Linked DNA regions of Homo sapiens: region 1 is linked to region 2. The links are contacts of gene promoters, found by promoter capture Hi-C in human tissues and cell types (Jung and others, 2019). All regions are on one chromosome and are shown on one strand. Each heading gives the region's core, a stretch centred on a gene start or on the middle of the fragment in contact. The rest is flanking DNA. Distances are from core to core; before and after follow the strand shown.

Region 1 (5,033 bases), core at 2,459-4,958, 40 kb after region 2:
TATTTTATTAGGACAGAAATGTGTTACGTCAAACTTCAGAAACAACATGATAACCTCAGAGGGTCATTTAGCACAGATGTAATGTAAGTTTAGCAAAAGGCCTAGAGTGAGGCCTGAATATGGTGATATTTCTTGTGAAATACAAATGTTGTTTTGCCTTTTTTTGAAAGTTGATTTGCTTAGTCTCTGTGTCTCCTCTTTATCACAGATGGGGTCATCAGACTTGCAGGTGGGAAAGGCAGCCATGAGGGTCGCTTGGAGGTATATTACAGAGGCCAGTGGGGAACTGTCTGTGATGATGGCTGGACTGAGCTGAATACATACGTGGTTTGTCGACAATTGGGATTTAAGTAAGGTTCATTAATTATAAAGGCAGTTAAATGCCAGATTATATTGTTAAAAGTCTTATTATGTTAATCCCTACTTGTAATTTTTATAATAATAAAAATACCTGTTCTCTCCTACCTGTGTATGGAAGTACAACAATGAAAAATAATGACATTTTCTAAGATGATGAATAACCACCTCTTGCTGTTTATTTCATTTACCTTTCCTGCCATGACCCCTCTTCTTGAATAATTAGTTGAAGCCAGGGGTGACCTCTAAGTCCCCTTGTGTCTATTCAAGTAAGACTTTGAATGCTCATTTTTATTCTGACACGTCATTACTATTGGATGTTTTTAGTTTTGACATCATTGTCTAAAATTGCAGAGAAGTCTAGTGTCAAATGCTTTGGTATTACATTATTCCCTTTCTCAGAATGTGATGATAATTATCACTTTTATTTGAGAAAAACAGCCCTCTTGTTAGGAGATGACCTTTAGAACTTGCTTTTGACCTCACTCTCTTAAAAGCTGAGTATCACACTTTGGGACATGTATTTTATGTCACACACATAATGCATTCCAGAGTAAAGACTTAAGTTGGTCGAAGTAACTGCAAATGATGCTTTTGAGTTAAATATTTGAATGAAAGCTATGAATGCCTATTCTTTCTTGTTTTCCATATTTCTCTGTCATGCTTGAAGTAATTGTCTTATGCTTAAAAAAACTGGCAAAATTGTTTCATTTTAGCTTGATTAGAGCTGACTGAAGATATTCACTACACTTTAAAAACATAGCTTCATTCAAGCTAGGCAAAGCCATGTTAAACATATATTTTAAAATTTATAAAAGTAATGTAAAACCATTGGAAAATGATGAAAATAAAAAACTCCATAATTTTTTATCCTTATGCTATCATTATAATTTGGGTAGATAACTTCATATCAGCTCTAGTAATGGACATGTAATTTTTATCCACATTTTTAACCTTATATTGCTACATACTCACAATTTTTAATGAAAACAATATCCACAGAATTTTCATACTGTAATTTACTTAATATTAGGTCAGCTTAATTTTTCCTGTGATAAGTAATGCTATCATGAAAACACAATATTCATATAATTTCCCCCATTTTGTCTTTTCTTGGGCAGAGAAGTTACTGTAATTTTTGTGTAAAAGGGTATGATATGACAGCCAAATAAATACAATATGCTGACAATTGATAAGAATTAGTTAATAAATATCACTTTATATTTAAGTGAATCTCAGACTGCCAACTATACTCTGTTTTCACAGATTTAGAGAGATTCATAAAATCATGTCATTTCTATTTATTTTCACATTTAGAGAGATTCATAAATCCTGTTATTTCTATTTTTCATATTTTTTTATTAATGAAAACAACACTGATTTTTTTCTTCATATTTTATTTTGTTTCACAAATCTATGCACAGAGTATTCACATTTATTTTAAAAATGTTCTCAATAATGTGTGTAAAAAGCTCTAAATGATTGTGTTAGAAGGTAGTCAAAGCATGTGTTACATTTGCTTCTAGTTTACAAAGGAATTTTTGAAAAAGAATATTCTTTTGTAATGAGAAAAAGTAAACTTTGGGTTTTTTTGTACAAATGCAATTCCAAAGTAAAATGACTTCCTGTTATCTGTTGTGTAGTTGCTATGGACAGATGATAATCTAATGTATTTCGTGAAAAAATGGTCTATAAGTTAAAAGTGAGCAATATACGATTTAGGCTTATTACTTTTCTAGCCAAGGGTTGATTAGTCAGCAAAATAGAAGGAAGAGAAGCCATAGAATGATTAAAATTTTCATTGTTTTAATTTATTAAAATATTCATTTTGTCAAATAAATTTAATAAATACTTGCATAAAAAAAGAAGAAAATTCATGTCAGATAGAAAGATCTCTTCATATTCTTAGTACAGAAATAATAAAAACATCAAGTAAGGGAATTATTATATGAGTAAGAGTTGAATCTTGTAGGCTGTTAGAACTGAAAGGTGTCTTAAAGATTTTTAAGCTCCGTGATTTCTGGAGGTTTGGATTTTATGGAACAAAAGGAAATAAAATTGGGAGGATGAAAGAAGGTGCAGATTGACTTAATTTCTAATTTAAAAAATTTTTCAGATCTCTCCTATTTCTGCAGCATATATATTTATTATACGTTTAGGTTTTGTTTCTGTAGTGCAGTGTTACAAATACACTCAATTGGAACACAAATATAATTGATAAACATTTTAAAGTTGAATTTGTATACCTTATGAAAAGCTAAGAATATTATAATTCTGATTTTGATGGGCTGAAATCTAAATTTAATCATGGATTAGGTATAGTGCTTGAGCAATCACTGAACTAATCCACACTTTTTATTTTGAAAGAAGACCAAAGAGAAGCTGCTGAAATCAAATGAGTTCAGAGGGAGCATCAGAAGCAAAATGAGAAAAGTGTTCTCACTTTCTGGTCACAATTTCTATGGTCAGGAATTTGAGATTGATCTCTTTGCATTCTCTCTGATTGGTTTTGTAGACAAAACACAAGAATGAATGGGGAAAAAGTATTAATTTTTCATTTGTTATTCGTTGAAATAATCGAACATTTTTAAGGTGATTAAAACATGTGATGGGCTGGGCGAACATAGCTCTAAACTGCGTCCCCAAGGTAGGAGAAAGAACAGATACTTATCCTCTGAAGTCATGTCACTGAACTAAGTTGCTTGTGTTAAATGTTTTGTGGTTCCCTGAACCAAGAGACAGAAGTTCTATACACAGTGTTTATTCAATTGTCACAGATATGGTAAACAAGCATCTGCCAACCATTTTGAAGAAAGCACAGGGCCCATATGGTTGGATGACGTCAGCTGCTCAGGAAAGGAAACCAGATTTCTTCAGTGTTCCAGGCGACAGTGGGGAAGGCATGACTGCAGCCACCGCGAAGATGTTAGCATTGCCTGCTACCCTGGCGGCGAGGGACACAGGCTCTCTCTGGGTGAGGACTGGCTGCAGCTCTCAAGTTTCCATCATTCAGTAGCCATTGCACCTCTAACCACTGGCCTTGAATATGAAGTGTTTCTCATCTTTGGCTTTTTTTGGGGTCTATTTCCCATAACTGTCTAATTTTCAGTAATTTTTATGCAGAGAAAAATAATCTTTTGAGTCTGTGCGCCAACATTATGAAATTTCTACCCCTAAATTGTTTTTCTTTACTTAGAAAATTAAGTTCCTCACTAACAATGTTTACAATCATCTGTATCTGAAAAATGGAATAAAGAAGCTGCAGTATCTATTCCCCTTACTCCTCGGTCACTTATTCTGATTTTCATTTACCTTGAATTCTAGTGAGCTATTTGGGATAGGATTTAAAATAAGAATATTCTCCTCTCCCTGTCTCATGGTTCATTTCTTCTCTAGTCCTGAAGCCTTGTCGTTCGTTGGTCACCAACCATCCATTGCTCTTTTAAGTGTCTCAGTGGTCTTCTAAGTGGATTAATTAAAGTTAATAGCTCACCCATCTTTCTAGTGTAACTTGTTATTTTAGAAACCCATCAGGGACCTCTGTTACTCTTCATTTACATTTTTTTAGACTTTTTGGATAAAAGGTAACTAGCTCCTCTAACTGTATTGAAATAATTATAGATAAAGATCCTCTTGAGAGTAGATAGCAGTTAAACATTCTTGATAAATTTCTTAATGTCTGATGAGGAGGGCAGAATATATATGAATGAAAAATACAGAGGGAAATATTCAAAATACTTTGTTGTATGCTATCACAGCTTTATTATATATCTATCTGTGTGTATGTGTATGTGTGTGCGTGTGTGTGTGTGTGTATGTGTATGAATAGATGTTAAAATAGCCTTAGGTGGTCTTTACTTTTAACCTTGGATTGAATCAACTCCTTTGTATTCTCCTGTTTGGAGACTGTGAAGCTGAAATCTTCATGTTATAAAGTAACAACTTTTTGAACCTCAGAGTATTAACCATATTACATACTTTAAATTTGTCAGAGTCTGTGGCTGATTCCTCATTGTACTGTACACTGTGAGAGCTTGGTGACACTGCATTAATCTAGCATTATACCAAGTTGAAATACATGTTTTTATTCCATCTCTTGCAGGCCATATTTCCATTTTTCTTTCTTTTCATTTTGTTCTCCTTTTCCCTTGCCCCTTCTTTTGAAAGATTTGTGATCCTCCCAGGATTATGTGGTGGATGTGGTTGAGGGAGATAGAATTTGTTTGCTGGAGATGGATTCTCTCAGCCCCAGATAGCAGGTGTTGGAATCATGGGATGATCTACGCAGATATGCTCTGTGAGCTCCCAGTGATGAAATACTATGTGACCTGAGTTCTCTGTAGGCCTGTGTTGTTAAACACATCATATGGTTGGAATAACTAATCTTTTCTGTTCCCTTGAAAATCTTTTTAATTCTAGGACTCTAGATGTATTTTTAAAAAATTTAAAAACCTGAGGGTGATAATTATTAATAAAATATATGATCACTATTATGAATCTCTTTGGTTCTAATCTCAGTAATGTGTCTATTAACTAAAGTCATTTGTCTGAAGAACATTATATCTGAGCCAAATATCCTTTTGGGATAGAATCATATTACTATTTGTTCATTCATAGATCATTACTTCCACCTATTAAAAACTACTATATATTTAAAAGGGAAGCTTAGAGGAGGA
Region 2 (5,769 bases), core at 2,525-5,024:
AATTTTACATAAAATATTATATTGTCATCTAATTTTCTTTTCACCTCTCTATAGGCTGGACAATGTTCTATAATTTTGAGTCCCCTACAGTCCCTAGACAGTCCCTCATATTATTTGACTTTTTTTCCTTTGATGTGAAAGAGCAATGCTCAGTGTTCTTTTGAAAATTTTTTTTGCCATTGGAATTGTCAAAGTAAATACTGTTCTTAGCCTTCTGTTTAAAAGTTCTTAGCTTTTCTAAATGCAGGCATTATCTAAATTGTAAATGGGCCTTTTCCAAAAGTTATTTTGTATATTGGTTTTTGGAACTCTCTAAAAATAATATACATATCGGCTATGTTTCCAAATCAAACTACACAAGAGCTATTCAGCCCATCACTTATGTGAAGTAAGATGATCCCCTAAACTACCACAAAACCAAATATTCATGTATAACACAGTTGCCGTGGGAAAGCACAGATATGCAGATGTATGTGTACCGCACCCTCACCCCCAAGACTACCCACCCTCCCTGCCGTTGTGTGTGCAGGGAGACTCTTCCCTTCACTTCCCTAGGTTTCCAGTTGTTGTTCTGGATCTAGGCACTACCAGAACAGGGCTGTGTGGCAAAGGAGAGTTGAATTCTTGGGTCCCAAATCAATGACAGAGGATTGATGAAATCAGAGGTGATGGAGGTGACAGAGTCCCATTATGGGGGCCTCCCTGGGACTTCCAAGTGTTGAGATGAGGTGTGCCTGCAAGATGTCATTTGTTTCTTTTTGTCCCTTTCCTTGTTCCTTTGTTGCTGCTGAAAGGAAGGGAAAGCAGAGGATCAGCTGTGGGAGTTTTTTTTGTTTTTGTTTTTGTTTTTTTTTTTTTGGCAGGGTCTCACTCTGCTATCCAAGCTGGAGTGCAGTGGCGTGATCACATCTCACTGCAACCTCAATCTCCTGAGCTCAAGCAATTCTTCTGCCTCAGCCTCCTTGTAGTTAAAAAATGTTTTTTTAGAGAGACGGAGTCCCACTATGTTTCCCAGGCTGGTATTGAACTCCTGGGCTCAAGCAATCCTCCCACCTCGGGCTCCCAAGCTGCTGGGATTATAGGCTTAAGCCACTGCACATGACGAAGATTCTTACAGTTGTAACAAGATGGAATTGCCTCCCCTCTCCTTTGGCATATACTAGAGGGTGATGAAAATCCTGGGAGGGAGCTTTGACTAAGTAGCGCCTTAATAGAGGTAGAAGGAAAAGATTTCTTCCTGTAAATCCCTGTACTCTTAATTCCCCCCAACTCCACACACGCTGTGATGTGACAGGTAGAAGAGGGAGAAATGCATTTCAGAGATTGAACTGGGAATTGGAAATTCTAAACATCTGTATGTTGGTAGCAGCAAGGAGAAATGAAAGAAGAGAGGAAGAGAAAATATTAGCAGAGGAGGGGACTAACATGTCAAGAAGAGAGCTATTTAAGACACACTTTTCCTGTCAAATAGAAGGCAAAACCCAAGCCAAGGCCCTCAAATCATAATTACATAAATGCCCTTATATTTTCTAAGAAAAGTATGTTTTAAAACTTAAATGATGAAATCCGGACGTGGAATTTTCTGTGGGTAACTCCACTTTGTGTATGTCAATTTTATAGTCTGTTAAATGTTAAGTGGCCTCAGAGTACAGGGAAGTGGAGGAGAGGCCAGACTGCCTGAGGCCATGCTCCTCTCTGGAGCTCAGATCTAACAGTCTTCTGTTTTATTCACTTCTCTCTCATTATTTTCCTGTCTGCAAGGTATGTAGATGCATGGAAATTGGGTCTGCTTCTGGACCCCCAGGAAGCATGGAAGCAATGATTGTAGGGGTCAATGTGGGAAGGGGAGGGAGCAGGGTCCAAGCAGCCTCCCCACAGTCCTAAAATGAGCCTTCCCTGGGCCATCAGGTGTGTAGCCTAAGGTGGAAAAGCTAGTCAGAAAGAAAAAGGGCTGACCCCTGATAGAACTGTCACCTATTATTTCAAAAATCTGTGATTGATGAGCTCTGCCAACCCTCACTAAAATGAACAAATAGACTACTCCAGATATATATTTTATCTTTCATTGTCTTCCACAAGTATAGATTTAACTATGCTTTTGGAGCCAGAAAAGTATTAGTAAAAAAATAATGGGTAAAAACAACTGGAATGAAAACAACTTGAATAAAGATTTGACAAATACATCCCTGGACTCTTAACATCATTTCTTTTACCCAATTCTCTCTAAAGTAAAATCAAATATTTCATTAATAGGAGTGAAACAAAAAACAATAAAACGACCCACAAAATTAAAGATGGATTTTTTTTTTTTTTCTTGAGACAACGTCTCCCTCTGTCGCCCAGGCTGGAGTGCAGTGGCACGATCTCGGCTCACTGCAACCTCTGCTCCCAGGTTCAAGCGATTTTCCTGGCTCAGCCTCCCAAGTAGCTGGAATTACAGGCGTGCGCCAACACTCCCCCGGCTTTTTGTATTTTTAGTAAAGGCGGGTTTCATCATGTTGGCGACGCTGTTCTCGAACTCCTGGCCTCATGTGATCCGCCTGCCTGGGCGTCCCAAACTGCTGGGATTACAGGTGTGAGCCACCTCGCCCGGCTAAAGATGGCTTATTTAAAGCTAGTAGTGAATTAATTCAGTTCCTAATTGAAACCTAGGTTTTAACAATAAACATTTGAATTTTGTTCAAGTTTTCTTCAGGGTACATTATATTATGAGACAGCATTGCTTTTTCACAACGAAACGTGACCATGCCAGAAAATAAAATGTTGCCTTCTTTACGGGCTTCCTTCTCCTTGTCAAACTTTGGTAGCATAGTCAGAAACAACTGAAAGGCAAAATACTAAAACATACAGCTCCAGTAACTTTTTTTTTTTAAGATTCTAAGCCAACAGTTTTTTGGAGCCTGCGGGAGGGGGGCGAGGAGTGTTGAAAGGGCCCTACTAAGCTGAGGTCGAGCCAACAGTGAAGCTTCAAAATTGTCAGCAGGCAGAGTCTCTGGAGAGGCAAATGAATAGGCTTAACAGAAGTCCCTTGCCCTGCAAAAAACGAGGCAGGTGCTAGGGGGGTGGACTTTTTGGATAGGATGGAAACCGGGACGGATGAAGTCTTCTCTGGTTAGAGAGGAAATTTGGTATTAAGAGAGCCTCACTGAATCCCAATAATAACCAAACAACTGGTGTTGTCCAGGGCACCGGCTGGAAAGTGGGAGGCAGGAAGCAGAAAGGCTCAAGCTCCTTTCCCTGAGTCGGTTCAGGATTTTAATTTCAGCCAATGTTTATTGGGGCACGGTGTTAAGCACGGTGATATCAAGCTGAATAAAACGTGGTCTTGTCCTTGAAGAGCGTATAGTTCAGTGAAATGGCTTTAACATTCCTCGTGGGTTTTGATAACTTTTATCCTGGGAGTTGTCAGGGAAGAGCTGCATCTAAATCCATCCATACTTTGGTAAAGATTTCAAAACAGAGGAAGCAAGATACGGGGCGACGAGGTTGGAGGAGAGATGACGGCAGGGGCCGGTGCCAGATTTGGGAGCCGCCAACGCCGGGCTGTGCTGGTGCTGCATGCTGGCAAGGGGCAGCCAAGACCGTGCTCCGCGCGGGCACCCTCGGGCTCGGTCCCAGCAGCTGGCAGTGCCGTGCGGGCGGACTGCGGTGGGCCTGGCAGGGGCCGAGCGTAGGTCCGGAGCAGCTTGCGCGGCCGGCGCCCGCCCCCAGGGGGCAGAGTTCCCGGGCTCGTGCCTGCGCCGCTACCTGGGGCTCAGGCCCAACCGCTCCCCGCTGCGTCCGCGCCTTCTCTTTTCCGGTCCTCTCCGCCGGCCGGGGCTCGGCTGAGCTCCAGATTTCCCCACCCGCGGCCGCCGCCAGGGGACAGGAGCCGAGGCGCGGCAGGGCACCAGCGGCGGGAGGCAAGGTTGGGGAGGCGAGGGCGGTCCGCGTGCGGGGGCGGGAGGGGGCTGGGGGATTCGAGGGACGCGGCAGCCCCGCCCCCGCCCCCTCCTCTTCTCCGCTCCAAGCCCGAGAAGCTGGGGAGCATGGACCAGACCCCGCAGCGCTGGCACCATGACGCTCGCCCGCTTCGTGCTAGCCCTGATGTTAGGGGCGCTCCCCGAAGTGGTCGGCTTTGATTCTGTCCTCAATGATTCCCTCCACCACAGCCACCGCCATTCGCCCCCTGCGGGTCCGCACTACCCCTATTACCTTCCCACCCAGCAGCGGCCCCCGAGGACGCGTCCGCCGCCGCCTCTCCCGCGCTTCCCGCGCCCCCCGCGGGCGCTCCCTGCCCAGCGCCCGCACGCCCTCCAGGCCGGGCACACGCCCCGGCCGCACCCCTGGGGCTGCCCCGCCGGCGAGCCATGGGTCAGCGTGACGGACTTCGGCGCCCCGTGTCTGCGGTGGGCGGAGGTGCCACCCTTCCTGGAGCGGTCGCCCCCAGCGAGCTGGGCTCAGCTGCGAGGACAGCGCCACAACTTTTGTCGGAGCCCCGACGGCGCGGGCAGACCCTGGTGTTTCTACGGAGACGCCCGTGGCAAGGTGGACTGGGGCTACTGCGACTGCAGACACGGTTAGTGGCCTCGGGGCGGCCGCGGAAACTCCGGACGGGCTCGGAGCCAGTGAGGCTTGGGGCCGGCGTACAGGTCTCTTGGAAAAAGTGACGGGGTGTGTGGGGTTGTGGGCTTGCGTTTGCGGGCTGTGATGGTGGGCTGCAGCTGGGTTACCAGTAAGGTATACTGGTGCTGCAAATCTAAGCCAGCCAGGTGTGCTTGTGTGAAGGTTGTCAGGGGTGACAGTTCTATGCAAGGTGCTGAGCTCTGGGTTTCTGAATTTGCTCTGTCCTCTGGCCACTGTGTGTGTGTGTGCGCTCGTGTATTGGGTGACAGTGTGCTTTGGGCGTCTGTTCTCTAGATTAGCTTACGTTGAGTGGGTTACCATATTTACATTAAAGAGGCATAATTACTTGTTCTGGAAAGGGAAATGTTACATTAACGTGGCAATCAATAACCTTCCCTCCATTCTTTAGACTCCGATTTTTAAAAATGTGGTAAAATTTTGCCTTAATTTAGCTGTTGACCTCTGTTTTAAAAAGTATGGCAAAATTATGTGGCCAAAATCAGCCATATTCACATACTCCAGCTCAGTATGGTAAGTATCATCAGTGACTGGAAAAAAAGAAAGGGAAAAGAGATGGGAATACTACTATCTTGGTGAAGTAGCAACTTAATATAGTTATACACAGTTTTCCAGAGCCATTACTTAGCTTTATATGTTTTATCAGGATTAGTTGGTAACATCAGGAGATAAAGGTGGCAAAATGTTTTAGGTTTGTGGTAATAAAAGCATCACACTAATAAATTTAATGTAAATGAATAATCCAGCTTTGAACATTGCTTCATTTTGAATTGTTGGGATTTTGTTGAAATTAGGTTTTTTTTTTTGTTTAAAAACTGAGGAAGAAAAAATATCCTCAAAGTTTGAATTTCTTTTCAACAAAATATTTTTGGCAGCTTTCCATTCACACTGTGGGGCAAGGGTTTCCTGAATTGAGATTCTGAATCATATTGTACTTTGTACTTTTTGGAGGTAACTTGGAGGTTATCTGTCACAATGTCATTCATTTCCTGGAGAAATTTTATTTATCAGTACCTTCAATTGCATTAGTGCTTTGAGTTAAGGAAAAGTGATAGGAAGGTTAAGATCAATTATCCTTTATCCTCGGGAATGAAGTCATCGCTTTACTTGTGTTTCATGAACAGAATGCCAATGTAGCTATAAAAA

The links. The method cuts DNA at HindIII sites, captures the fragments that hold promoters and counts their contacts. A contact is called where the count stands out against the background at its distance.
Region 1: a fragment that was not itself captured here is called in contact with the fragment with the promoter of PRSS12 in region 2 in 2 of the 25 tissues and cell types used here (H1 embryonic stem cells and stomach).

Annotation. Positions count from the first base shown.
Region 1 is chr4:118,311,499-118,316,531 of GRCh38, reverse strand. PRSS12 (serine protease 12) reads left to right here. Exons shown (of 13, transcript NM_003619.4): 6 at 209-350; 7 at 3,135-3,331. Among named protein-coding and RNA genes, the nearest start is that of SNORA24, 35 kb to the right of the region's middle. The HindIII fragment of the contact is 7,240 bases long and covers 89-5,033 here.
Region 2 is chr4:118,351,008-118,356,776 of GRCh38, reverse strand. It overlaps PRSS12 (serine protease 12), which reads left to right and starts at 3,774. Exons shown (of 13, transcript NM_003619.4): 1 at 3,774-4,558. The coding sequence starts at 4,057. RefSeq lists silencers at 3,548-3,807, 3,838-3,917 and an enhancer at 3,184-4,029. The HindIII fragment of the contact is 10,666 bases long and covers 339-5,769 here.